Regions from separate parts of the Homo sapiens genome. Here regions 1, 2, 3 and 4 are each linked to region 5. Evidence: promoter capture Hi-C in human tissues and cell types (Jung and others, 2019). All regions are on one chromosome and are shown on one strand. The core of a region is centred on a gene start or on the middle of the fragment in contact, and the rest is flanking DNA. Distances in the headings are between cores, read along the strand shown.

The links. The method cuts DNA at HindIII sites, captures the fragments that hold promoters and counts their contacts. A contact is called where the count stands out against the background at its distance.
Region 1: a contact is called between a fragment that was not itself captured here and the fragment with the promoter of ZNF611 in region 5, in 1 of the 25 tissues and cell types used here (adrenal gland).
Region 2: a contact is called between a fragment that was not itself captured here and the fragment with the promoter of ZNF611 in region 5, in 1 of the 25 tissues and cell types used here (mesenchymal stem cells).
Region 3: a contact is called between a fragment that was not itself captured here and the fragment with the promoter of ZNF611 in region 5, in 1 of the 25 tissues and cell types used here (spleen).
Region 4: a fragment that was not itself captured here is called in contact with the fragment with the promoter of ZNF611 in region 5 in 1 of the 25 tissues and cell types used here (adrenal gland).

The regions. Positions count from the first base shown.
Region 1 is chr19:52,604,718-52,608,298 of GRCh38, forward strand. All of the region lies in intron 1 of LOC137778871 (a long non-coding RNA gene), which reads left to right. Among named protein-coding and RNA genes, the nearest start is that of ZNF83, 32 kb to the right of the region's middle. The HindIII fragment of the contact is 6,396 bases long and covers 1-3,581 here.
Region 2 is chr19:52,955,524-52,958,937 of GRCh38, forward strand. ZNF816-ZNF321P (ZNF816-ZNF321P readthrough) reads right to left here. Exons shown (of 4, transcript NM_001202473.2): 2 at 504-581. The coding sequence starts at 566. It overlaps ZNF816 (zinc finger protein 816), which reads right to left. Exons shown (of 4, transcript NM_001202457.3): 2 at 504-581. The coding sequence starts at 566. Among named protein-coding and RNA genes, the nearest start is that of ZNF816, 5.6 kb to the right of the region's middle. The HindIII fragment of the contact is 5,247 bases long and covers 1-3,414 here.
Region 3 is chr19:52,884,111-52,887,947 of GRCh38, forward strand. All of the region lies in intron 5 of ZNF320 (zinc finger protein 320), which reads right to left. Among named protein-coding and RNA genes, the nearest start is that of ZNF320, 12 kb to the right of the region's middle. The HindIII fragment of the contact is 3,146 bases long and covers 1-3,115 here.
Region 4 is chr19:52,981,471-52,985,047 of GRCh38, forward strand. It overlaps LOC105372453 (a long non-coding RNA gene), which reads left to right and starts at 739. Exons shown (of 2, transcript XR_936062.3): 1 at 739-825; 2 at 3,290-3,533. It also overlaps the pseudogene ZNF702P. The HindIII fragment of the contact is 6,260 bases long and covers 1-3,577 here.
Region 5 is chr19:52,732,658-52,736,335 of GRCh38, forward strand. It overlaps ZNF611 (zinc finger protein 611), which reads right to left and starts at 2,387. Exons shown (of 6, transcript NM_001161499.2): 1 at 2,344-2,387. It overlaps LOC124904760 (a long non-coding RNA gene), which reads left to right and starts at 1,374. Exons shown (of 2, transcript XR_007067328.1): 1 at 1,374-1,803; 2 at 2,137-3,047. RefSeq lists enhancers at 2,375-3,360, 2,673-2,802 and a silencer at 2,423-2,492. The HindIII fragment of the contact is 18,911 bases long and covers 1-3,678 here.

The sequences.
Region 1 (3,581 bases), core at 570-3,069, 130 kb before region 5:
AGTGTGAGTCACCACGCCAGGCCCCTCTGCTCTTTAGATGTGTAGTAGTTTGATTTTTTTGTCCTCTAGTGATGCTGCAGCTCAGAGACAAAGGCAGAATCTTTATCCTGATGGGCAACACCGTGTCATCTGGCTTCTGTGACCTCATTGGTTTCTTGACTCTGGAACAGGGAGGGCTGTGTCAAAGGGGTCTCCTTCCCCTGTGGTCTCTCATTCTGTACTTGACTCCTTCTGACGCTCCATTCTCTGTCCCTATAGATAAGATCTGAGGCCTCCATACACCTACCCCTTGACCTACCAGGTTCCATCCCATTTCCTGTACTTGGAACACCTAATCAAGAGATCGGAAAACCTGGGCTGCTCCTCCTTTGCAACCGGGGCCCGGGATACTGCACAGAGCCCTCTCTGCTTGTTCAAATAGTTGGCTTGCCTATTTGAAGTAGGAAAAAAAGGCCATGCGCGGTGGCTCATGCCTGTAATCCCATCATTTTGAGAGGCTGAGGAGGGCGGATCACTTCAGGTCGGGAGTTTGAGACCAGCCTGGCCAACATGGTGAAACTCCGTCTCTACTAAAAATACCAAAAGTAGCCGGGTGTGGTGGTGGGTGCCTGTAATCCCAGCTACTCGGGAGACTGAGGCAGAAGAATCTCTCGAACCCGGGAGGTGGACTCTGCAGTGAGCTGAGATTCCGACACTGCACTTTAGCCTGGGCAACAAAGAAAGACTCCACCCCCCGCCAAAAAAAAGAAATACAAAAAAAAAAAAAGTGTTTTTCCTACTCTCTCATGCCACTGAGCACAGAATGCCTCAGTTCTGATCACCAAAATTTGTGGATTTCTCCCCAACCACATCTTGGAGTGCAATGGTGTGATCTTGGCTCACCACAAACTCTGTTTCCTGGGTTGAGATGATTCTCCTGCCTCAGCCTCCTGAGTATCTGGCAAAAGAGCAAGACCTCATCTCAAAATAAAATAAAATATGTGAGAACAAAATTACTCAAAGTACAAAAGGCTAATCAGAGACTCAAAGAAAACAACCATTTGTCTCTTATTTACCTATGTCCTGGAATCCACCCCCCACCCCGCTTTGGGTTGTTCCACCTTTCCCGACTTAACCAACGTACATCTGACACTTACTGATACGTCATGACTCCCTAAAATGTAAGCTCTACCTAGACCATATTGGGCACATGACATTAGGACCTCTTGAGCCTGTGTCGTGGGCATGCAGTTAACCTTGGCAAGATAAACTTTCTAAACTGATTGAGATTTGTCTCAGATACTTCGTTCACAAACTATTTTTAAAGTCCCAGGTAATTTATTTTAGCAGCTAAAAGAAAAATCTTGGCTGGCACGTTGGCTCATGCCTGTAATCCCAGCACCTTGGGAGGCCAAGGCGGTTGGATCACAAGGTCAGGAGTTCAAGATCATCCTGGCCAACATGGTGAAACCTTGTCTCTACTACAAATACAAAAATTAGTGGGCATCTTGGCATGTGCCTGTAATCCCCGCTACCTCAGAGGCTGAGGCTGGAGAATCGCTTGATCCAGGGAGTCATGGGTTGCAGTGAGCCGAGATTGTGCCACTTCACTCTAGCCTGGTGACAGAGAAGACTGTCCAAAAAAAAAAAAAAAAAAAAAAAAAAAAAAAAAAAAAGCTGGTTTCAGGGGTTTCTGGTTACAACAGGAAGTTTCAGCAGCCATACTTCAGAGAATCACGTTCTTGAAGCAATGTTTGTATCCTGAGTTCATTTTTCATCTGTCCTCTTGACTTTGGTTTAGTTGTGAGGCAGCCTCATTTTCTGGGGTAATACCTGATGTTCGTTGTCTCATGGCCACGGAAATCGAGGACACGGACACCCAAGAGTGGCGTTAAGAGTGGAAGTTCAATAGGCGAAAGAAAGTCAATAGCTCTCTGCTACAGAGAGAGGTCCTGGAAAAATGGTTTGCAGATTCGTGGCAAAACGTAGGGGTTTTATAGATGAGCTGGTGGGGAGGTAGTGTCTTATCTACATAGGACCAGATGTAACATTTGCATACGGCATGAATTTCTGGCAGCCCCCTCCCCAATCTTTTATTATGCAGGTTCTTTGCCTGAGCTGTGCCATGTTACCCATTTCTTTCTTACTGTACACGTGCTAACAAAAAAGGAAAGACGGAGCTTCCATGGTGGACATGCCTAGCCCCAAGGTAGCCCCTTTTCTATTGGCACAGCTGCTGACTTCCCCCATGCAAGCTTCCAGCTTGCTTACGTATGTTTGCAGATCGATTTTTCGGGCTGCTCTTTGTTAGAACAAAACGATATTTTGGGCAGCTTTTTGTTAGAAGGGAAGCTCTGCAGAGGAGTTTTTGCCCTTACTGTCTGCCTAAATAGTTTATTTTTACCTCCTGTATAAGTTGGATGTGGCAAGAGTGACCCAATTGATAAGATGAACTTTTATCACGGCAGAATTTTAAATTCACTTTACGTGCATTCTGCAAGTAACTAGAAAAGATACTTTTTATTTGCAAATTATAAGGTGTTTTGTTTGTTTGTTTGTTGTTATTTGAGACAATCTCACTGTGTCACCCAGGCTGGAGTGCAGTGGTGCGATCTCGACTCACTGCAACTCCCGCCTCCCAGGTTCAAGCAATTTTCCTGCTTCAACCTCCTGAGTAGCTGGGATTACAGGTGTGGGCCACCATGCCCGGCTAATTTTTGTATTTTTAGTAGAAACGGCATTTCGCTATGTTGGCCAGGCTGGTCTTGAACTCCTGTCCTCAAGTGATCTGCCTGCCTCGGCCTCCCAACGTGCTGGGATTACAGGCATGAGCCACCACACCTGGCCAATTATAAGGTATTTTATTTTTTATTATTTTTATTATTATTTTTTGAGACGGAGTCTCAGTCTGTCACCCAGGCTGCAGTGCAGTAGCACGATCTTGCCTCACTGCATCCTCCTTCTCCTGGGTTCCAGCAATTCTCCTGCCTCTGCCTCCCGAGTAGCTGGGATTACAGCCATAAGCCATTACTCCCAGCTAAGTTTTTTTTGTCTTTTTAGTAGAGATGGGATTTCACCATATTGGCCAGTCTAGTCTTTAACTCCTGACCTGGTGATCTGCGTGCCTTGGCCTCCCAAAATGCTAGGATTATAGGCTTGAGCCACCGCACCCGGCCCTGTAAGTTATTTTATACCTTTTCTTTGTTTTTCTTTCTGTCAGGTGTGGTAAGAAAACCTGTAACATAGATAGCCTTCAGAATATATTTGGATTTACTGTGGAGTCCTAATTAGGGAAAAGGAGTCTGGCTAGTGGGAACAGGGGGAAAGCAAAGAGATAAGGCAAATAAGCTATTTAAAAAACTAAACATTGAGCTACCATATCATCCAGCAAGCCCAGTGCTGGGTATATATACCCAGCACTAGGCTAAATACAAGAAATAAAAGAAATCAGTATATTGTGTGTATACTTATAGACAATGAAGTAATGTTCAGCCGTCAAAAAGTATGGCATCCTGTCATTTCCAACAACATGGATGCAACTGGAGAGAGATATATATATATATAAATATATATAATATATAAAAAATATATAATATATATAA
Region 2 (3,414 bases), core at 356-2,855, 220 kb after region 5:
AAAACAAAAGTTTGGCGTCAGAGACATATTGACTCACTAGTGTAGCTTCAAATGCATTACAAAATCAGACACAAAATATCTCCCCTAGTTTGTCTCCTCTTCCAGAATTTACCAGATTAACCAGTGAACATTAATGTATGACTTTCATATACAGTTTCTCTGATCTGGTCCACAAAGAGCTAAACATGCATCCAGATGTGGCCCCTGAACAATCCCTGCTGCCCAACATCACTGACACCATGGGGCCCACACCCCATCTCCATCCATGTCTGGTGTGAGCCCTTCCCAGGACCATGCCCAGTGGAGCCTCTTCCCAAGCTCATGTCACTAGGTTATAGGAGATGGAATTTAAGTGAAGATGAGAGGGACTGAGAAAAGACACGGGTGAGTGCGAGCAAACGTGTGATGTAGAATGCTTCACACTCAGAGAAGATTGGCTACTACAATACCTGGCACTTCAGAAAGGAAAGAGACAGAAGAATCCACCAAGGAATATCACTTACCTGAGGAAGAGCCATCCCTGGCTCCTTTTCTTTGCTCTTCTTGGTGGCTTCCTCACGTAACATGAGTCTTTGGAAATCCTGTATGTTAAAAAAGCAAGAGATTTAATATTTAGAAACCATTGACTCCTTTCCTGTGACAAAACACACACACAGGGGAAACCTCACCCGAGAGAAAGATGGTCCTTTGCTACCCACTGCACCAGAGACCATGCAGAGATAAGAAAGTTCCACAGGAAGACCTACAAATGTAATTTTGACCCGTTTTCAGATCTTGCTCCCCTCCTGGAAAAGTCCACACACACGCTGCAGCAGGACACAGATCTTCAGGGCACAGATCTAGCCCTAACCAAACTCCATGCAGAGCACAGCCCCCTCACCTCCCTGTGGATCACAGACTGATCTCAGCTCTCAACATGGAGGAAACTTCCTTGATGTTTAATGCTGGACACAGATAAGAATCACCAGTGCCATTGTAAGTATTATTGAGTGTGGGTCCCATCCTATTATAATAGCAATCTGATAAAACAGCATGCCTGTAATCCCAGCATTTTGGGAGGCCGATGCAGCTGGATCCCTTCAGCTCTGGGGTTGGACACCAGCCTGAGCAACATGGCGAAAGCCCATCTCTACGAAGAACACAAAAATTAGTGTGGTGTGGTGGCACGCAGCTGTGGTCCCAGCTACTCTGGAGGCTGAGGTAGGAAGCAGACCACCACTTCTCCTGCTGCCTTCCTCCCTCCCCCTTGCCTAGTTTATAAGACAGGAGGAAAGGAAGAAAGCAAAAAGTTAGAAAGAAACAGAAGTAAGATAAATAGCCAGACGACCTTGGTGCTACCACCTGGCCCCGGTGGTTAAAAATAATAATAATACCAACCCCTGACCTAAACTACTTATGTTATCTGTAAATTCTAGACATTGTATGAAGAAGCATTGCAAAAGTTTCTGTTCTGTTAGCTGATGCACGTAGTGTCAAGTCACATTCCCCACACTTGCTTGATCTATCATGACCCTTTCACGTGGATGCCTTAGAGCTGTAAGCCCTTAAAAGGGCCAGGAATTTCTTTTTCAGGGAGCTCAGTTCTTGAGACACGAGTCCTCTGATGCGCTGGGCCGAATAAAGCCACTTCCTTCTTTAATCCGTTGTCTGAGAGGTACTGTCTGCGGCTCGTCATGCTACATTTCTTGGTTCCCTGACTTGGAAGCGAGGTAATTAACAGAAGGTCGAGGCAACCCCTTAGGTGACTTAGGCCTGCCCTTTGGAGCATCCCTGCTGGGTACTCCAGCCAGCTTGGGCGACATGGATTCTGAGAGTGCTACCAGGTAGGCATGTGCCCCAGAAAGATACTTAGCCTGGCCATCCGAACTTGCAGTGTAACCAGTGTGCTTACTGTAAAGAAATAGGATATTAGAAGGACAAGTGCCCTCAGCTAAAAGGAAAACAAGGTGGCTCAGAGCAGGAGGCCCCAGAAGGAGCCCTGTTCAATATAGCAGAAGAGTTACTGAACTGAGGAGGACCAGGCTCAACTGCCCCCAAGGAGCCCATGGTCAAGATGACAGTTAGGGGCAAAGACATTGATTTTCGTATTGATACCAGTGCTGAACATTCAGTAGTAACCGCCCCGGTTGCCCCCCTTTCCAAAAAGACTATTGTTATAATCGGAGCCATGGGAGTTTTATCAAAGCAAGCTTTCTGTTGCCCCAGACTTGTACTGTAGGAAGACATAAAGTGATTCACCAGTTCTTGTACATGCCTGACTTGAAAGGACTTGAAAGGACTTGCTTAGCGAGCTGAGAGCCACCGTCTCTTCTACAGAGCACAGCTCTTTACAGCTAAGGTTACCCAGAACGGGAGTCATTATGGCCCTTACAGTCCCCCAGGAAGAGGAATGGAGACTTCTTTTAACTGAGCCAGGCCAAGAGATAAGACCAACTCTGGCTAAGCGGTGGCCAAGGGTGTAGACAGAAGACAACCCTCCAGGGATGGCAGTTAACCAAGCCCTGGTACTTATAGAAGTTAAGCGTAGGGCCCAGCCAGTCAGGCAAAAACAGTACCTGGTCCCCAGAGAAGATCTTGAAAGTATCCAGGTCCATCTCAAGAGCCTGAGAGCCTTTAGAATTACAGTCCCTTGTCAGTCTCCCTGGAACACTCCCCTCCTGCCTGTTCCCACGCCAGGGACCAATGACTACAGGCCGGTACAGGACTTGCACTTAGTCAATCAAGCTACAGTGACTTTACATCCAACAGTACCTAACCCGTACACGTTAAGGTTGCTGCCAGCTGAGGACAGCTGGTTCTCTGGCTTAGACCTGAAAGACACTTTCTTTAGCATTAGACTAGCCCCTCAGAGCCAGAAGCTGTTTGCCTTTCAGTAGGAAGATCTGGGATCAGGTGTCACTGCTCAGTACTCTTGGACCCGGCTTCTGCAAGGGTTCAAGAACTCCCCCACCATCTTCAGGGAAGCACTGGCTCGGGACCTCCAGAAGTTTCCCACCAGAGACCTAGGCTGCGCATTGCTCCAGTACGTTGATGACCTTCTGTTAGGACACCCCATGGCAGTTGAGTGTGCCAAGGGAAAGGATGCCCTACTCTGGCCCTTGGAGGACTATAGGTATAAGTTGTCCAAGAAGAAAGCCCAGATCTGCTGACAGCAGGTACATTACCTAGGATTTACTATCCAACAGGGGGAGCGCAGCCTGGGATCAGAAGGAAAGCAGGCTTTTTGCAACCTACTGAAGCCTAAGACCAGAAAGCAGGTGAAAGAATTCTTAGGTGCTGTGAGGTTCTGCAGACCGTGGATCCCAAACTTTGTAGTACTGGCCAAGCCTCTGTACGGAGTCACAAAGGGGCAGGACCAGGAACCTTTTGAACGGAGATCCCAACAACAGCAAGCCTTTCATGAGTTAAAAGAAA
Region 3 (3,837 bases), core at 293-2,792, 150 kb after region 5:
CTGGGCTAAACCGTGAAGAAGCCTCTCACCAGGAATCAATTTGGCTGGCACCTTGCTCTTGGATTTCCCACTTTCCAAATTCATGAGAAATAAATTTCTGTGTCTTAAGCTTCCCAGTTTAAGCTACTTCCTTTTTCGTTTATTCTTCAGATCGAGTCACGCTCTTATCACCCAGGCTAGAGTGTACTGGCAGGATTCTCCTACCTCAACTGATTCTCCCTCCTCAGCCCAGAGTCTCACTCTGTTGCCCGGGCTGGAGTGCAGTGGCGTGATCTCAGCTCCCTGCAACCTCCACCTCATGGGTTCAAGTGATTCTCCTGCCTCAGCCTCCCAAGTAGCTGGGATTATAGGCGCAAGTCACCATGCACAGCTGGTTTTTGTGGTTTTAGTAGAGATGGGGTTTTACCATATTGGCCAGGCTTGTCTTGAACTCCTGACCTCAAGTGATCAACCTGTCTCAGCCTCCCAAAGTGCTGGGATTTTAGGTGTGAGCCACTGCGCCTGGCCCATTTTTGGCATTTAGTACATTCCAGGTTTCACCATGTTGGCCAGACTGTTTTCAAACTCCTGACCTCAAGCAATCTACCCACCTTGGTCTTTGAAAGTGCTAGGATTAGAGGCATGAGCCACCGTGGCCAGTCAGTCTAAGCTATTTCTAACAGTGAAATGACAGAGAAAGGAACAGGAGCATCTCATCATCAACATCACCACAGGCTGACAAATCTTATTAAACAAAGGATGTTTAGGGTCTCTACTATAAATCTTGCAATACTTGAAGCCATCTAATAGCACTAACATGTTTTAAAAACCTTGAGACATGTAGGGCATGGTAATCCCAGCATTTTGGGAGGATGAGGTGGGAGATTCCTGAGGTCAGGAGATCAAGACCATCCCAGCTAACAAGGTAAAACCCCATCTCTGCTAAAAAAAAATACAAAAAAATTAGCCTGGCATGTTGGCACTCGCCTGTAGTCCCAGCTACTTGAGAGGCTGAGGCAGGAGAATCACTGGAATTTGGGAAGTGGAGGTTGCAGTGACCCAAGATCACACCACTGCACTTTAGCCTGGGTGAGAGACTGAGACTGTGTCTCAAAGAAAAAATAAATAAATGACAGAAGGCTAAAGAATAACTCCAACCCACAAACATATATAAAGTTCTCCAGTAAAGGTAAATAAAAAAAACGGGTAGGCTGGGCATGGTGGTTCATGCCTATAATCCCAGCACTTTGGGAGGGCAAGCCAGGCGGATCACCTGGGGTCAAGGGTTCGAGACCAGCCTGGACAACAAGGAGTAAACCCTGTCTCTACCAAAAATACAAAATTAGGCCAGGCGTGGTGGCTCATGCCTGTAATCCCAGCACTTTGGGAGGCTGAGGTGGGTGGATCACAAGGTCAGGAGATCGAGACCATCCTGGCTAACACAGTGAAACCCCGTCTGAACTAAAAATACCAAAAATTAGCCAGGCATAGTGGCCAGCACCTGTAGTCCCAGCTACTCAGGAGGCTGAGGCAGGAGAACTGCTTGAACCTGGGAGGTGGAGGTTGCAGTGAGCTGAGATTGCACCATTGCACTCCAGCCTGGGAAACAGGAGTGAAACTCTGTCTCAAAAAAATAAATAAATAAATAAAACAATAAAAATACAAAATTAGCTGGGTGTGGTGGCGCATGCCTGTAATCCCAGCTACTCGACAGGCTGAGGCAGGAGAATTGGTTGAACCGGGGAGGTGGAGGTTGTGGTGTCAAGATTGCAGCACTGCACTTCAGCCTGGGTGACAAGAGCAAAACTCTGTCTCATAAATACATAAATTAATTAATTAATAAAAGGACAGATACAGAAACTCGCATACGTATACCTTTTCTTCATAACTAAACTTTTTTTCATATTATTAAAAATGAAAATGTATGAAAAAACACTGTACATATATGTTAACAGAAATGCAACATACACAAAAATAACTCTGACAAAAATAAAAAAGTTCTACTGGAGAAGAAGTAGTTTTTGTAGGTTATGGAATTTTTTTATTTTTATTTTTATTTTTTTGACATGGAGTCTCACTCTGTCTCCCAGGCTGGAGTGCAATGGTGCGATCTTGGCTCACTGCAACCTCCACCTCCCAGGTTCAAGTGACTCTCCTGCCTGAGCCTCCTGAGTAGCTGGGATTACAGCTGCCCACCACTGTGCCTGGCTAATTTTTGTAAATTTAGTACAGATGAAGTTTCATCATGCTACCCAGGCTGGTTCTGAACTCCTGACCTCAGGCGATCTGCCCACCTCGGCATCCCAGTGCTGGAATAACAGGTGTCAGCCACTGCACCTGGCCAGGTTATGGAAATTTTAAGCTTCATTATTGTGCTATAAGTTTAAGATGTTTAACATACCTGCAACAATAACCTCTCCCCATATATCAATACAACGCACTTCACTTCTGCGTACTGAACGGAATGGACACTAATGTGGTTGTTATATTCACACTGGAATCATGTTTAAACCACTTATGTTTACTAAGAACTAAAAGACAAAACTATTTAAAAGAATAACCATGGTTGGGCATGGCAGCTCGCGCCTGTAATCCCAGCATTTTGGGAAGCCGAAGCAGGTGAATCACTTGAGATAAGGAGTTTGAGACCAGCCTGAACAACATGGTGAAACCCCATCTCTACTAAAAACACAAAGTGAGCTGGGCATGGTGGTGAGCGCCTGCAGTCCCAGCCTCCAAGAAAGGTGGGGCACAAGAATCCTTTGAGCCTGAAAGGCAGAGGCTGCAGTTAGCCAAGATCGTTCCACTGCACTGTAGCCTGGATGAAAGAGTGAAACTATCAAAAGAAAAAGAAAGAAAAGAAGAAAGAAAGAAAGAAAAGAAAGAAAGAAGGAAGGAAGGAAGGAAGGAAGGAAGGAAAAGAAAAAACAAAACAAAAGAAAAGAAAAGAAGTAAATAAGGAAAGAGCAGAGGGATAAGTGAGGGCAAAGAAAGATGTCCCTTCAGAGATCTCAGGATTGAAACTTTTCTTTTGCCACAGAATTCTCCCACTTGCAGAGAGTTTCCCCACACACTATTTGAAGGTGGAGCTTCCACTCTGCCCATCTGAGCTCTTACCTGCGTTTACACCTGTAATACATTCCCACCCATCTGGAGTTTTTTGTTATTTTCACTTAACTCTCCACAGTCCAGGGCTCTTTCCCTTGCTCCAACATGGAGATAACAGGTCAGAAAGAGACTCGTGCTTATAAAAAGAAAGGACCATGATGTGCTGGAGCTTTTCTAGAGTCCCAGCCCTATATTTCTGTAGGAAAGAAGACATTACAGGTGGATCTAGGAAAATATTTCACAAATTCCTCCACTGACTGCCTCATTCTGAATGCTGTTGGAGCACTGTAATATGTAATATGTGGACATCGGGCTATCTTCCAAGAACTAATGAGTTGAAAGCACAGGAGAAGCAAACAGGGAACTGGATATGTTTAAAGTCTACCATAAGGTTTTGTTTTTGTTTTTTGAGACAGTCTTGCTCTGTCGTCTGGGCTGGAGTGCAGCGGTGTGTTCTCGGCTCACTGCAACCTTGGCCTCCTGGGTTCAAGCAATTCTCTCTCCTCAGCCTTTCTAGGAGCTGGGATTGCAGGTGTGCACCATGACGTCCGGCTAATTTTTGTATTTTTAGTAGAGACAGGGTTTCACCATGTTGGCCAGGCTGGTCTCAAACTCCTGACCTGAAGTGATCCACACACCTCAGTCTCCCAAGGTTCTGGGATGACAGGCATGAACCACCATGCCCAGCTTGCCATAAGGTTTTATGCCTACTTTAGTTCTGGAACCCACATTGAGGTATCATGAAGAACG
Region 4 (3,577 bases), core at 43-2,542, 250 kb after region 5:
GAAGCCAGGGTTGAGCTCCACTCAGACAGCGCCAGCCCAGCACAGCCCCACCTTCTGGCTCTGCTCTCCACTTCGGGACTTGTTCCCACCAGGATCCAGTGAAAAGCGAAGGAGCAAAAAGAATCACAAAGAACAGGCAACATGGACCAGAGGTGGGGGTGAAGGTGGAGCTGCCATGTCAAATGGGGGACTGTGGGTGATCACAAACGTTTCCATAGAGAAAGCAATGTCAGAACAAAGACTTAGGGATGAAACACTGCTTGTCACTTGTAGCTGAGGGGCCAGAGAGTCCTGGGCAGAGTGACATCTCAGGTGAAGGCACTGAGACAAAAGCAACCTCAGTCCCAGAAAAAGGAAAGAGGTGTGCGTGGCTGGAGCAGAGGGAGTGAGGAGGACACAGGCAGGAGATGACCTCAGAGAGGTCCTGGAAGTGAAGATCCCTAGGGACGAGGTCTTGAAACATTTTTCTCCCACACCTCAAAAGAATTTTGGAAATGATGTATTTCCTCACTCCTTTCATGTATACATGCAACTTTCTCTTTACATTGTAAGTTACAACACTCACAAATAGTGGAATTTATTTCCCATATTTAAAATACATGCTGTCAGTTTCAGCTAAGCTCCCAGAAGTACACTGTCGCCCTCATCTGAGAGGTGTAGGACTGCAAGGGAATGTGTTTGGGGGTTCAAGAAGTCACTTATGACTTCTTGACACATGAAGGTGGAGATGCCTGTTTGATGTCCCAGCAGAGAGCTGAAGAGACAACTGGACACAGAATTGTGGAGCTCAGGGGCGAGGCCTGCAGGGGACGTGGAGTCATACAGGTGGGCTAAAGCGGTGAGATGATAAGGTTCAAGGTGATTTGATTCTAATCTCATTTTTTCCTTCTTGTGCTTTTGTTTTTTACATTTTTGGAGGACTGAAATCCATTTAAAATTCAAATTACAGCTAAGCACCTCCCTGTCCTAAAGGAAAAGCCACACACTCCATTGTGCCCATCATTTCAGGGGTCAGTGTCACTCTGAGCTTTTCTGGTCTTCTCCCTCACCTGTATATTACAGGTGGGCTCAGTGAGGTTCACAGCGGGGGACGTTTCACCAAGTTATCCTGAGAAGCTCTGAGTTTTGTAAGAAGGAGGAGTCGCTGATTTTCATGTGATGGCCAGGAAGGGTCAACAGGCTGCGTTGGTCATCTTCCTCTATAAAATTCCAGGACTGGCCACATGTGGTGGCTCACTCCTGTAATTCCAGCACTTTGGAAGGCTGAAGCAAGTGGGTCAGTTGAGCCCAGGAGTTTGAGACAAACCTGGCAACATGGTGAAACTCCATCTCTAACGAAAGTACAGAAAATTAGCCAGACATGGTGGTGTGCATCTGTGGTCCCAGCTATTTGGCAGGCTGACTGGGGGGGATCACTTGGGCCTCAGAGGCAGAGGTTGCTGTGAGCCAAGATCGTGCCACTGTACTTAAGCATGGGTGACAGAGTAACACTCCATTTCAAAAAAAGGAAAAATATTCCAGGACCATCTTTTATATCCCCAAGCAAAAGAAATGTCTCTTTCAATGTCCAAAATTCTGATGGCACGAATCCTAAACATGTAAATATTTTCCCAGAAAAATGACAGTAATACATTCAAAATAAAAACAATTGTGAACACATAGCTATAGGTTTTTAAAACACTGAAAGAGAGGCAGTGGTAGAAATAAGCTGTGAGCAAATGTTTTCTTCATGAACACGTGGGCTCTGCTGAAACAAGGTTCCAAGTCAATCCAGCCCATCCTTCAACATCTGCAAAGAATATTATGGACCAGAGGAACTTGAGGAGAATGTTTACTTAGAAGGTCACAGTTCACCATTTTATCAGATGACATAAGGAAAGAAAGTAGAGTAACAGGCTACTTGAACTAAATTTTTATGTTAGCATAAAGAAAATAGGTCCTAGGGTCAGGCGTGGTGGCTCATACCTGAAATCCCAGCACTTTGGGAGGCCAGGGCAGGTGGATCACCTAAGGTCAGGAATTCGAGACCAGCCTGACCAACATGGAGAAACCCTGTCTCTACTAAAATTACAAAATTAGCTGGGTGTGGTGGTGCATGCCTGTAATCCCAACTATTTGGGAGGCTGAGGCAGGAGAACCACTTGTACCCTGGAGGCGGAAGTTGCGGTGAGCTGAGATCATGCCATTGCACTCCAGCCTGGGCAACAAGAGTGAAACTCCATCTCAAAAAAAAAAAAAAAAGAAAGAAAGAAAATAGATTCTTGACATCTTTATCAAATATGCATTGAAACAACCTAAAATCATTTATCAGGTACTAGAAAGTGTTTCCAATATGTGGTACAGACTAGAAAGCATGCAGTCTTCAATGTAAACTGGACACAATAAATTTCATAGAGAAACTATATTAAAATGGTTAAAAATATATACATCTAATGAAATGTGGGGTCAAAGGAGAAAATTTTGAACACATAGATAAAAACAATGATGTGAGGTTGGGTGTGGTGGCTCACGCCTGTAATCCCAGCACTTTGGGAGGCCAAGGTTGGCAGATCACAAGATCAGGAGTTTGAGACCAGCCTGGCCAATATGGTGAAACCCTGTCTCTACTAAAAATACAAAAATTAGCCTGGCATGGTGGCGGGGGCCTGTAGTCCCAGCTACTCGGGAGGCTAAGGCAGGAGAATCACTTGAACCTGAGAGGTGGAGGTTGCAGTGAGCCGAGATCGCGCCATTGCACTCCAGCCTGGGCAAAAGAATGAGACTCCATCTCAAAAAAAAAAATGATATGAGCTCATAAAATTCTACCAAAGCTTATTTGAGAAGTAGTTATTTATTTTATGTTTTTGAGATGGAGTCTTGCTCTGTCACCCAGGCTGGAGTGCAGTGACATGATCTCAGCTCACTGCAGCCTCTGCCTCCTGGGTTCAAGCGATTCTCCTGCCTCACCCTCCTGAGTAGCTGGGATTACAGGCACCAGCCACCACACCCAGCTAACCTGTATTTTAGTCCAGATGAGGTTTCACCATGTTGGCCAGGCTGGTCTCAAACTGTTGCTGTTACATTGGGACTGAATGGAGGAGGACGAACACGGGAATGGAGTATGGAGTCAAAGACAAAAGTATCTGTTTGCAAGAAGGGATCGGGGGCTCTTTGCTTCTAGAGAACAAGAGCCCTGAGCTTCTACAGCCCTTCATATTTATTGGGTAGAGTAAACAGAGAGGAAGGGGTAACTGTCAGTCAACTATTTAATTTAACACAGGTGTAAGTGATTGCCTTTTTTGTTCAACAGGCTCCAGATGTTTCTGTAGATAATTTCAAGGAACATGGCACCTGGGATGTGACTGCCCTCAGCATTCCTTCTGGTGGCAGATTCAGTTGTCACCTTGCCAACTGCTTTCACAAGAACAGTTTGCTGTTTGCTCATACAGCCTCCAATGGTATACTGAGTTGACAACCCTCATTCCTTCAGTGTCCAACATCTCCCCCTTTATGTTTTTGCATTAATTGAATAAAGGTAATTCCAGGCTGTGCAACTTTCAATTGCCAGTTGGTGGTCCACCCAGTCTTACAGACTATA
Region 5 (3,678 bases), core at 1,137-3,636:
CACGGTGGCTCCTCCCTGTAATCCCACCCGTAATCCCAGTAATTTGGGAGGCCAAGGCAGGAGGATCCTTTGAGCCCAGGATTTTGAGACCAGCCTAGGAAACATAGTGAAACTCCGTTTCTACAAAAAAAAAAAAAAATACAAAAACTAGCCGGGCTTGGTGGCTCATGCCTCTGGTCTCAGCTACTCAGAAGGCTGAGGAAGGAGGATGGCTTGAACTTAAGAGGTCGAGGCTGCAGTTAGAGGAGATCACGCCACTGCACACCAGCCTGGGTGATAGAGTCAGACCCTGTCTCAAAATATTAATTAATTAATTAATTAAATGTATTTTGTAACAACAGACAGTGACTATTTTCCCACTTCACTGACCCACGTCCTACCCCATCCTAGGAAAAGGGGAGACAGTGATTCACAACTGAATAAGTGACTGCCCTCTGGCAAATAGGGATTCCAAGTGGAACATAACCTCTGATGCCAAGATTTATAGAATGTACATGTCTTATAGATACGAATTTTAAAATTCTCAATCTCATCTGTGTAATTTAAACAAGTTTTTAGTTATTAGATTATATATACAGAACTCAACATGTCACAACCAATCATATCCAATGAACTCACCCACTCATCTGAACCCAGTCTCTCGCCCCTTTTTTTTTGTTTGGAGACAAGGTCTCGCTCTGACGACCAGGCTGCAGTGTAGTCACATGATCTCAGCTCACTGCAGCCTGGACCTCCTGGGCTCAAGTCATCCTCCCAGCTTGGCCACCAGAGCAGCTGGGAGTACAGGTGCACACCATTATGCCCGGTTATTTACTTACTTTTTTGGCGGGGGGGAGGTCTCACTATGTTGCCCAAGCTGGTCTCGAACTCCTGGACTCAAGCAATCCCCTTGCCTCAGTCTCCTAAAGTGTGGAGACTACAGACTACAGGCGTGAGCCACTGTGTCCAGACCCTCTTTCTTCATTACTGTGCTTCCCTCCCTAATTCTGTACATATCTCTCATTCTCCCCTTCTCTCTCTAGCTCTTGTTTTCTTTTCTTTTTCCCTGGGATTCTGCTCTTCATTTTGTACCCCTCTCCTCTCCTGCTATTCATCCCCTTCTTCCCTTTATTCCTTCTCTTCCACCTCTTCTCCTCCATCCTCACAACTTATTTAACCTCTTATTGCTCCTTCTCCCCAATCTTTCAATCGTCCTCAATCTCCATCTATTTCTGCCTCTTCTCCCATCTCTGCGCCTCCTCTGCTCTCCCTGTTAAATTCCATCTTCCCCGATATACTCCCTTGTCCCCACTCTGTGTCTCCCCAGATCCCAGCTGTCCTCTCTGCTGTGGTTCTCCCTCTGTTCTCCTTGACACAAGCACCACTCTGCTCTGTCTGCCCTGGCTCCAAATCCTTCCCTCTCTCCCTCACTCTGATGAGTCTCCCTCTTTGCTGCCACTCCCCCTACCTTGTGATCCTTCATCTCTCTGTACATCTATCTAGCCTTTCTCTACATTTCTCCGGTTGCTTTTCTCCTCCTGCTTTCTTAGGTTTTTTTTTTTTTTTTTCACTTCTGCCATCTCTTGGCATATCCCTCACCAATCCTCTATTTTGCCATCTGTTATGGGCCTTTCTTATTCTTCTTTTCTCTGCCTCAGGTTTTCTACTGCTCTCTGTCTCCTGATTCCTTTGGCCCACACAATCGCAACACGGTTTGGAGTAAGACGCCTGCATCCCGGAGGAGCGCATTTTCCACGCCCTGGAGCTCCGCAGGCAAGAATACCCCGTGCCGCAGGACAGGCCCCTGGGACCTCCCCAGTGCAGGTTCAATGAAAGCGGTGACTGCGGAGGGGAGACCTGGGGAGCAGCAGGCCCCGGCATGAGGAGGAAGGTGCGGGGCGGGGGGGGGGGGCGCGACGGCGCCTTAGGACCAGGATGGGGTCTGCAGGATCCCAGGACCTGGCAGAGGACTCGGCCTCCCCGGGACTGGGGCTGCGGCGCGGCGCTCCCGGGGCTGAGGAGGGGGAGGCTGGGAGGCGCCCTGGGCAAGAATCCACATCGCGGGTGAAGACTTTAAAAAGCGCGGGGCGCGAGGAGTCAGAACAAGGTTTTCAGCAGGAAAACTACGCAACAGAAAGTGTATACATTGACCTATAGCAGAAAGACCGGGGACGAGACCAGCCTCAGGACGACTTTAAACCCAAAAGGAAGCGACCCTCGGGCTCTCACGGGGATGTCTCAATTTGCTCTGGGCAAAGGAAGACGCCGGAGAATTTCCAGGTCTGTGGGGACCCCACGTCCCAGGGACAGAAGCCCTGGGAACCTAGTTAGCGCAGACTTAATACAACACAGAGCAAAACTCACCGCGGCGATATGACCTACACTCCACCCGATCCGCTTCCGGGTTTGCGTTAATCTGCGCGCGCAGGACAAAAGCCAGGCCTGGGCGGGAAGTGGGAGGTAGGCGGGGCCTGGGCGAGGTAGGGGCGGGGCGCGAGGCGGAGAGACCTTGCCTTTTAGAACCGGCAGAGGGCAGGGCCGGGGCGGGATCTGCGCGTCTCTCAGCCTCGCTCCCAGCGTCTCTGTTTTCAGGTTTTGGAGGCGAGAGCGCCAGAAAGTCTGAGGCATGATACAAAAGCCCTGTTGAGAGAAGAGAGAGACCCTCTGACATTGTTTTATATTGTTTTATAGTCAGTAAAAACAACAGGAAGTAAAACCAAAGACAGGCAGCCCCGCGCCAGGCCCGAAACCAGGCCTGGATCCGCCTGGCCTAAACCCAGTAGTTAAAAATCAACTTATGATTTAGAAGCTGATGTTAGGCATAGATTCCAGACATTGTATAGAAGAACACGGTGAAACTCCTGCCCTGTTCTCTCTCTCCCTGATCACCGGTGCATGCAGCCCCTGTCACGTATCCCTTGCTTGCTCAATCAGTCACTATCCTTTCATCTGAAATCTTTAGTGTTGTGAGCCCTTAAAAGGGACAGAAATTGTGCACTCGGGGAGCTTGGATTTTAAGGCAGTAGCTTGCCAATGCTCCCAGCTGAATAAAGCCCTTCCTTCTACAACTCGGTGTCTGAGAGGTTTTGTCTGCGACTCGTCCTGCTACACTGTAATTGTCTGGAACAGGGATACAAACTAGAATGTGAAATGCAAAGCCCTGCCTGGGCGGTATGTACCATGTCATGCTGAGGTCCCACAGAACAGATAGATATCCTCTCCCTTTCTATTGTCCATTCACTCCGGAAGGAGACTCCGCCCTGTGCTCAGCTTCAGAGACTTCCCTGAAGCCACCGCCTGGAATGCCGGACGGAGTGCTCAGGCCGAGAAGGAGTGAGGTCACCACCTGCTGCTTAAAGACAGCAGAGGCGCGGGGGCGGGAGCCTGAGGTCCCAGCTACTCAGGAAGCAGCGGCGGGAGGATCCCTGAGCCTCGGGTTCCAAGCCAGCCTGAGCGACAAAATAACGCCCACTGCCGCGGTCTCCCTTTCTTGTCTCTCTCTCTCTCTTTTTTTTTAAAAAAAACTTTCGCAAATAAAATTTTTGATTGTGTGACATAGGGATCCAACATTATTCTTTTCCATGTGGATATCCAGATAGTTGTCCTAGCACATTTATGGAAGAGATCTATTACTTTCTTGTATTATTATTATTATTATTATTATTATTATTATTATTTTTGAGACAGAGTATTTCTCTG